Linked DNA regions of Homo sapiens: region 2 is linked to region 1. Evidence: promoter capture Hi-C in 16 types of primary human blood cells and fetal thymus (Javierre and others, 2016). All regions are on one chromosome and are shown on one strand. Each heading gives the region's core, a stretch centred on a gene start or on the middle of the fragment in contact. The rest is flanking DNA. Distances are from core to core; before and after follow the strand shown. Region 1 holds the start of TCP11L1 (t-complex 11 like 1). Region 2 overlaps FBXO3 (F-box protein 3).

The links. Contacts are between HindIII fragments. The CHiCAGO score rates a contact against its expected background, and 5 or more counts as called.
Region 2: a contact is called between a fragment that was not itself captured here and the fragment with the promoter of TCP11L1 in region 1, in 1 of 17 cell types (erythroblasts). The highest score is 5.1, in erythroblasts.

Annotation. Positions count from the first base shown.
Region 1 is chr11:33,037,199-33,041,362 of GRCh38, reverse strand. TCP11L1 (t-complex 11 like 1) reads right to left here and starts at 1,791. Exons shown (of 10, transcript NM_018393.4): 1 at 1,571-1,791. RefSeq lists enhancers at 971-1,290, 1,771-2,120, 1,841-2,388 and a silencer at 1,391-1,790. The HindIII fragment of the contact is 10,463 bases long and covers 1-4,164 here.
Region 2 is chr11:33,747,129-33,751,292 of GRCh38, reverse strand. It overlaps FBXO3 (F-box protein 3), which reads left to right. Exons shown (of 11, transcript NM_012175.4): 8 at 632-754; 9 at 2,401-2,516; 10 at 3,973-4,163. Among named protein-coding and RNA genes, the nearest start is that of CD59, 13 kb to the right of the region's middle. The HindIII fragment of the contact is 1,775 bases long and covers 1,035-2,809 here.

The DNA.
Region 1 (4,164 bases), core at 542-3,041:
CCTATTAGGGTCAGGAAATGCTCCAAGATCCAAAGGATAACATTACCAGCATATTCTGTGAGAAACGACAAACAAAACGCTGCTAATTTTATTATCTTCACATGCTGAGAAGGAGCCCAGGAGGGATGAAGTAATTCATTCTGTGCAGTGAGGAGGAAAGGGAGGATTTCTAGGTCTCTAATGCTCAGCTTAGTAAACTAACCCCATCCTTAAGATTGAGTTCAAGTCCTGTCTCTTCCCAGGACACTTCCCGGACCTCACCAGTGATTGCACCTTTCTCAACTCCTGCAGGGCTGGCTAGTTGACATTTGGCATTTGTCACTGCCTTAAATTCAATTCAAAGCGTGCTTATTTAAATAGAAAGATGCAAATACATAGTCTAGAGGGGGAGGCAGACAGGCTTACAAGGAGCCATAATGAAACTTAAGTGGCATTATGAAATTGCCCAGGGAATATAGCAGAGGAAGAAACTAACTCTGCCTGGGAGGAGATTGAGAAAACCTTCCCAGAAAAGATGACATTTGAACTGATCTTTAAAAGGAGTAGGATTTCACCTAGTTAAAACATGTCTGGAGGGGGAGAGGAGGGGGAGAGGAGGTGAAAAGGAGGGCATTTCACTCAGAGGGCAGAAGCCAAGGCACAAGAAAATGAGAAAAGGAAGTGGCTAGAGATGATGGAAAGATGCGTTGGGGCCAGATGGTAAAAGTGCTAGTTTTTATTTTAAAATTCCCCACCTAGATTTCGAACTTCTTAAGAGCCAGGACCAGTCATATTCCCCACTTATGCTCCATCTGTATATCCCCCAAATAGACACCCACAAGTATCTGTTGATAGAGATGAATCCCTACGTCATCTCTGTGATGTCACTGTATCTGGGAGGCTGGGCGTTGGTTTCAGACATACCTGGGCCCCAATTCTGGCTCTTTACTAGCTGTGTAACTTCAGTGTCCTCCTCTGTAAAACACAGCTACCTACCTGCTCGGTTTGGGGGGAGATGAAACGAGGGATTGTGCACGGCAGGCCTTCTACAAATGGTAACTCTAATTAAAGGGCTCTAGGATGCGGCCACGAACCATTTAATTTGCTTATATCGCGCGCATCCATTCAACCCCCACTGTGTCTAAAAAGAGAGCCGAGGGGAGGAGGATCCTCGCACTTGCCAAGAAGACGGTCATCCGTCGGCGCTGCACGCGGGCCTAGGCTGGACACAAGAGGCTCCCCAGCAGAAAGGGTCTTTCGGCAAAAGAAAAAAGGGGCTCTGTCCCCCGGCGCCGGGAATCCCCTCCTCTGGCACTGAGCTCCACTCGCGCCCGGCGTCCGGATTCCGTTGTAAACAGCTGTTCAGGCCAGCGAGGGAGTGGCAGGGCCGGGAGTAGGGGAGGACGCGGGCGCGCCGAGAGGACAGCCTCGAGGGGTGAGCTCCACCCGCCCGCGGACCCCGCCTCTTCCTCGCCTGCCCCCGACATCCCGGGATGGGATCCGACGGGAAGAGGCGAAGAGATGCCTGCGACTTGGACCGCGCGCCTCCCGGACGGGCCCCGCCAGCCTCCGCCCCAGCTCCCGCTCTCACCTGCCACGGAGTCGGCGTTCTCCCTCCTGCCGCTCCCGCCGCGAATCAGGCGCGGGCTGGCGCCGCGGCGGAAGCCGGAGGGATGCGCGGCAGGCAGGGGCGGTTCAGCCTCTGCCCCTCCGAGGCCGCATCCCTCGCCACGCGGCGGGCGGTCCTCCCAGCCCGACTCGGGTGGGCAGCGGTCAGAGCGGCCGCTTCTCAGCATCAGGAAGGAGGAGACTGCTCTTGGCCGGGAGGCGCCAGCCCAATATAGGGCAGCGCCATGTCTTCGTACGGAAAGGCGGGAGGGTCTTTCCCCTGCTTGCCGAAGGGGTTCAGTAAGCGGTGACTCGCAGCTGGGCGGCGCCGTGTTTCCTCAGGGAGAGGTGGAAAACATGGCCGATGACCGCTCAGGGGGCTCCGTGGCCAGTGGCTCCCAGCCAAGAGTCGCCCGCCGCACGCAGTGAGGCGCCATGTTTTCGTACGGAAACGCGAGAGGCATGGCCGAGTGCCCGCCGATGAGTCTCAGCTGGCGGTGGCTCGAAGCTGGGGATGGCCCGCCCCTAGGCGCCATGTTTCCATACGGAAAGACGGAACGCGCGCCGCATCCCAGCCGCTGGTGCGGGTGACGCGAGGAGAAAGGGAGGCGGAGAAGGCGCGGGTCAGTCAAAAGAAGGAATAAGAAGCCATTGCATCTGAAACCTTCCCCGCCCGTTCTTTGAAATTTAATTTTGCCATCCTGTTTGTAGCTACACAAAGTTTATTCCCCTTCTCTCATTTCCTCAGCTTTAAAAAAAAGTTAGTCCGGGCGCAGCAGCTCACGCCTGTAATCCCAGCACTTTGAGAGGCCGAGGCGGGCGGATCACGAGGTCAAGAGATCGAGACCATCCTGGCCAACATGGTGAAACCTCGTCTTTACTAAAAATACGAAAATTAGCTGGGTGTGGTGGCGCGCGCCTGTAGTCCCAGCTACTCGGGAGGCTGAGGCAGGAGAATCGCTTGAATCTGGGAGGCGGAGGTTGCAGTGAGGCGAGATCGCGCCACTGCACTGCGGCCTGGAGACAGACCGAGACTCTGTCTCAAAAACAAACAAACAAAAAAAAACTACAAAAAAGCAGATGGGGTGACATTGGTGCTTTCAAACACTGCTTCTAAATAGATCACATGTGGGTAGTTATTGCTAACGTATTGAAGGCCGAGTGCAATACCAGACCCTCAAACCATTTACTAACTTGCACATTAAAGTCTTTGCTTTAAAAAAAAAAAAAAAAAGACAAAAACAGAAGTTCTCTGGTGAAGATTCACTTTTTGGAGGAAAAAACACCAAAAACCCTTAAGATACTCAACTAAATGGAACTGTTAAGATCTACAAAGAATGGCTGGGCGCGGTGGCTCACACCTGTAATCCTAGCTCTTTGGGAGGTCGGAGGTGGGTGGATCACAAGGTCAGGAGTTCGAGACCAGCCTGGCCAATATGGTGAAACCTCGTTTCTACTAAAAATACAAAAAAATTAGCCGGGCATGGTGGCATATGCCTGTAATCCCAGCTACTTGGGAGGCTGAGGCAGGAGAATTGCTTGAATCCGGGAAGCAGAGGTTGCAGTGAGCCGGGATCGCACCACTGCACTGCAGCCTGGGTGACAGAGTGAGATTCCGTCTGAAAAAAAAAAAAAAGATCTGCAAAGAAAACATGCAGTTCTTCTGAGTCTAAACTCGTACCATTAAGTCTCTAGTGTTTTTCAGCCCTGACTACAAATACAACTTGGAATCTCAGGGGCAGGGGTTGGAAAAGTATCATCCAAAACTCCGGGGAGGGTGATGCCAGACAAGTTTTAAAAGCTCCCTGGGGAAGCAGGCTAGAACCTTCCTTAAAAGATTAATATGGCTGGGTGCAATGGCTCACGCCTGTAATCCTAGCTCTTTGGGAGGTCGAGGCGGGCGGATCACCTGAGGTCAGGGGTTCAAGACCAGCCTGGCCAACATGGCAAAACCCCGTCTCTACTAAAAATACAAAAATTAGCTGGGCATGGTGGCAGGCGCTTGTAATCCCAGCTACTGGAGAGGCTGAGGCAGGAGAATCCCTTGAACCCAGGAGGCAGAGGTGGCAGTGAGCGGAGATCGCACCCCTGCACTCCAGCCTGGGAGACAGCGAGACTACATCTCAAAAAAAAAAAAAAAGGTTAATATAACCAATTTTCACTTGGTTAGGAGCAAGTGAATGAATATACTCAAGTTCCACCTGGAGAGGATACTGCAACAATACCAAAATCACTGATTTAATTTGGGATATTTCACTTGTAATCTTTTAATGTTTTGTACTGTTTCAATATTCAAAAAATACATATAGACACATTCCATTTTGATCTTTGGCTGCAAGGACTGGAAATTCAAATTACGTTAAGGTAAAGGGAGTTCACTGCAAGGACATAGGACTTGGAGGGAGAAAGGTGGCAGCCACTCTAGAGGTCGGCTACTGCTCCTGTACACACAGGATCCCTCTTGTCACATCTCTGCTTGCTGTAGTCCATTCCACTCTTTATGCTACAGGCTGGTTTCTGTACTTTCTTAATTGACGCGCCTCATAATTTAAATTTACCTATATAGAATTTGATTGG
Region 2 (4,164 bases), core at 673-3,172, 710 kb before region 1:
TGATTTTGATTTAGAAACTATGGGTTAATAGTATCTATATAATTTATTTTTGAAAAACACCAAAAAGTTATTTGGCAACTGATAGATTTATTATGAATAGCAAGTCGGTAACTGTTAATTCCTGGCAAATATTTATTATCTCTAAATGGAACATTCAGGTATTGTAGGGAGTACTGGAGGTAATACTGGTTCATAATAGCCTGGTTGGCAGAAATGATAGATTGATTATACATTAGAGGCTTCTGAGAACAGCATACTTGCACATTTTTATTGTCAGAGCCATCATTTAGCATTGGACATCATGCAGCTGGGTTTTCAGATGTCCCAAAAGTTTCCTTAGCCCTGGAAACTGAATAAGCTCATTTTTGTTTCCAAGCTAATTACCAATCCGTTATTTGAACCACTGATCATTGAACCTTGATTGCTGTCATTACTGATCCAGAGTCACCAAGGTTTTGTAGTTTGTTTCTAGTTTCCTTCAAAGTTTAATAGGACTATACCCAAATATTATTGAACTTTTCTGGGTCTGAAATATGATTTAAATTTTTTGTCCTAAAGTATAACCTATTTTGCATCGTATCTTTTAAATCCTGTAGTTGATTTTAAAATGTTTAATTTTTAAATTACCTAGATATGTTCACGATCCAGAATGTGTAGCAACAACTGGGGATATTACTGTGTCAGTTTCCACATCGTTTCTGCCAGAACTTAGCTCTGTACATCCACCCCACTATTTCTTCACATACCGAATCAGGTGAGAATTTTAAATGGGGTCACCTTTCAGTTAATGGTGGGATATATCCAATGGACATGTTGCTATTGTCCCATTTGACATGATATGTAAGACACATTTTGAAAGAACTTGCTGAAGTTTGGAGGAAGGTGGATACATTTTCTACAAGATAGTGTTCATGGAGGACTTTGACTTCATATTAACCTCTAAGTTAAGTTATTTCTTGAAAATATACTGGGTATCAAGTATTGTGCCAGGTACTGTGGAAATGGACCACTAAGTTGTAGTCGTCATTAAAGCTTCAAGTTGTAATGCATTCTAGAAGCTCTCAAATTGCCATAATAAAGTCATGCATTTTAAATTTCATCTGGCCTATTTATATTCAATTAAAAAATCTAATAAATGTGTATTGAGTGCTTCATGGATGTCAGACATAGTGTTAGACATTGAATTTTATTAAATAAGAAGCAAATATTTTAAATTTACGTTAGTTAGAAGTATTCTGTGCTATGACACAAAGATAACTCATTGCCCTAAGGGATTAAGGATACTGTGCTTTAAAATATATTTTTATATATTTTATGTAATATATAAGTATATTTTAAAATACACATACATGCATATATGCATACTGGAAGTATTTGAGTAAAATATAACTACCAGGAAGCATCCTAGGATTTAGATACTGTATGCAACCTTTGCTATATCCAAATACACATGTATAGATATTTGTCGTTTACTTGTTTGATTTAGATCCTGCCTAGGATTGAGATGTGCTCAAAATAAAAATACCAACACATACTTATAGGGTACTCAAAGTGAAAATAAGAGACACCAGATTCCTAGGGAAAGGGGAAAGTGATAGCATTGGGAAACAGAGTCAAAGTGTAATCCCAGGCTGGACACGGTGGCCCACGCCTATAATCGCAGCACTTTGGGAGGCTAAGGTGAGAGGATTGCTTGAGTTTGGGAGTTCAAGACCAGCCTGGACAACATAGTGAGACCTTGTCCTACAAAAATTTTTAAAAAAATTAGCCAGGTGTGGTGGCACATGCCTGTAGTCCCCAGCTACTAGAGGAGCTGAGGCGGAAGAATGGCTTCAGCCTAGGAGGTCAAGGCTGCAGTGAGCCCAAGATTACACCAGTGCACTCCAGCCTGGGTGGCAGAGTGAGACCCTGTCTCAAAAAAAAAAAAAAAAAGTGTAATCCCAGTAACTGGTGACATCTTGTCTTAAACTGTCTAGAAACTAATGGAAAAAAGGGAAATGGGTTGTATAGTCTCATGCAGTTAAAGAGAGACTTTCAGTTCTCCGGAAGTTTTTCATGGCACTATTTTCTAGAAAGCATTTGCCAAATTGATCTTTATTTGAACAGCGAAAGATTGTTGTCACCATTATGTTGCACATTTTATGTTGCCCTTTCTGTTGTTGATCCACACTGACAGTCAAATGCATAAGTTGAGTGAAAGCATTTTTGTAGGGGGATCAAGTTAATGAAGCCAGTATCTTTGAGAACTTAGAAAAATAGATGGCTAACATGGACTTTGGGTTGGGTTTCTTAATTTTTTGGAAATTTTTCTTCATAGTATTAGCCTGAATACTGTATCTCTTAAACCAAAGAAACAAAGAAGCCAGATTTTTGTCTCTACCACCCCATTCCCTTCTCTAGGATTGAAATGTCAAAAGATGCACTTCCTGAGAAGGCCTGTCAGTTGGACAGTCGCTATTGGAGAATAACAAATGCTAAGGGTGACGTGGAAGAAGTTCAAGGACCTGGAGTAGTTGGTATGGAACCCAAGATTTAGGTTTATACATTAATTCCTTAGAAGAAATGTTAGACTTTGCATCCTAAATATAACATATAAATGTATAAAGGTCGTTATCCTATTAATTTAATCCCTTAAGCATTAACTTTTCTGAAATAATAGCAAACTTAATTATTCAGGGATTGATTTCCCTTTTTGTGGATTTTATTTTATTTTTTTTAACTGGTTCATTATTCATTGTATGTTGTGGGTTAGAACACATAGGGCAGAAAGGGGGAAATAAATTTTGTATTCGTCATGTTTTTTGAAGCTTGGGGGGAAATGTTAAAATTAATGGCATGAATTTTTATTGTTTGTAGATTTCAGTCACTTTAATTCTGGTTACCATTGTCATTTGGCTTTCTTAAAGATTATGATTATCTGAAGTCTCTGAGCCCTCAGATGCTTCAGGTTTGAATATATGCTCCAGGAAAATAACATATTTATGCTATGTACTTCTGTTATCAGTTCTAAGCATATACAGAATTCAGTTTAACGTTTTCTAAATTCATTGCCATGGATAGATCTACATGTTTACTTAACAAATTTTTTTCCTGGGCTTCAGTCCAGGAATTTTTTCTGGATCTAGCGCTAAGAGAGAGGCTTTATTAAAGCCACAGTTCTTTTTCTGCCATTTGGTCCAGTGGTATAAGGACTCTCCCTTGTGAGTGCCATTTTGTCTGGTCTGAATGCTTAGGATGCATCTTCACAATTTTATGTTTTTGTTTCTTGCTACTTTAAAAATATTTAGATTACCTTATCTTTGTTTGAACTGGTGTCTGTGATGCTTTTTATTACTCATGTCTTAAAGGTTGTGTCTTCAATGCCTCAAAGCTTTTTGAAAAAGAAACATGCCTGTTCTGTTTTTTTTTTTTTTTTTACTAGATACTTCCCACTTTCTACATTGTAGGGAATTTGAGGAATACATTAAAAAAATGTTGAGAGGGCTAAGCGCAGTGGCTCACGCCTGATATCCCAGAACTTTGGGAGGCCAAGGTGGGCGGATCACCTGAGGTCAGGAGTTTGAGACCAGCCTGGCCAATGTGGCAAAACCCTGCCTCTACTAAAAATACAAAAATGAGCTGGGCATCATGGCAGGTGCTTGTAATCCCAGTTACTCAGGAGGCTGAGGTGGGAGAATAGCTTGAGCCCAGGAGGTGGAGTTTGCAGTGAGCTGAGATCACGCCACTGCACTCCAGCGTGGGCAACAGAGCAAGACTCTGTCTCAAAAAAAAAAAAAAAGTCAAGAGGAATAAAATACCTACTCATTGTCCTATCACTGTTAACATTTTGTTACATTTTCTTTTGGAATTTTTTTTTCTAACTGTGCATTTACTATTATATAGTTTACATAATGCCATGGAGACCATACCTTATTTATTGTAATAAAGAAATGAATTTTATACTTTGGTTTATTGTTACTGTTTTCCCTGCAGGTGAATTTCCAATCATCAGCCCAGGTCGGGTATATGAATACACAAGCTGTACCACATTCTCTACAACATCAGGATACATGGAAGGATATTATACCTTCCATTTTCTTTACTTTAAAGACAAGATCTTTAATGTTGCCATTCCCCGATTCCATATGGCATGTCCAACATTCAGGGTGTCTATAGCCCGATTGG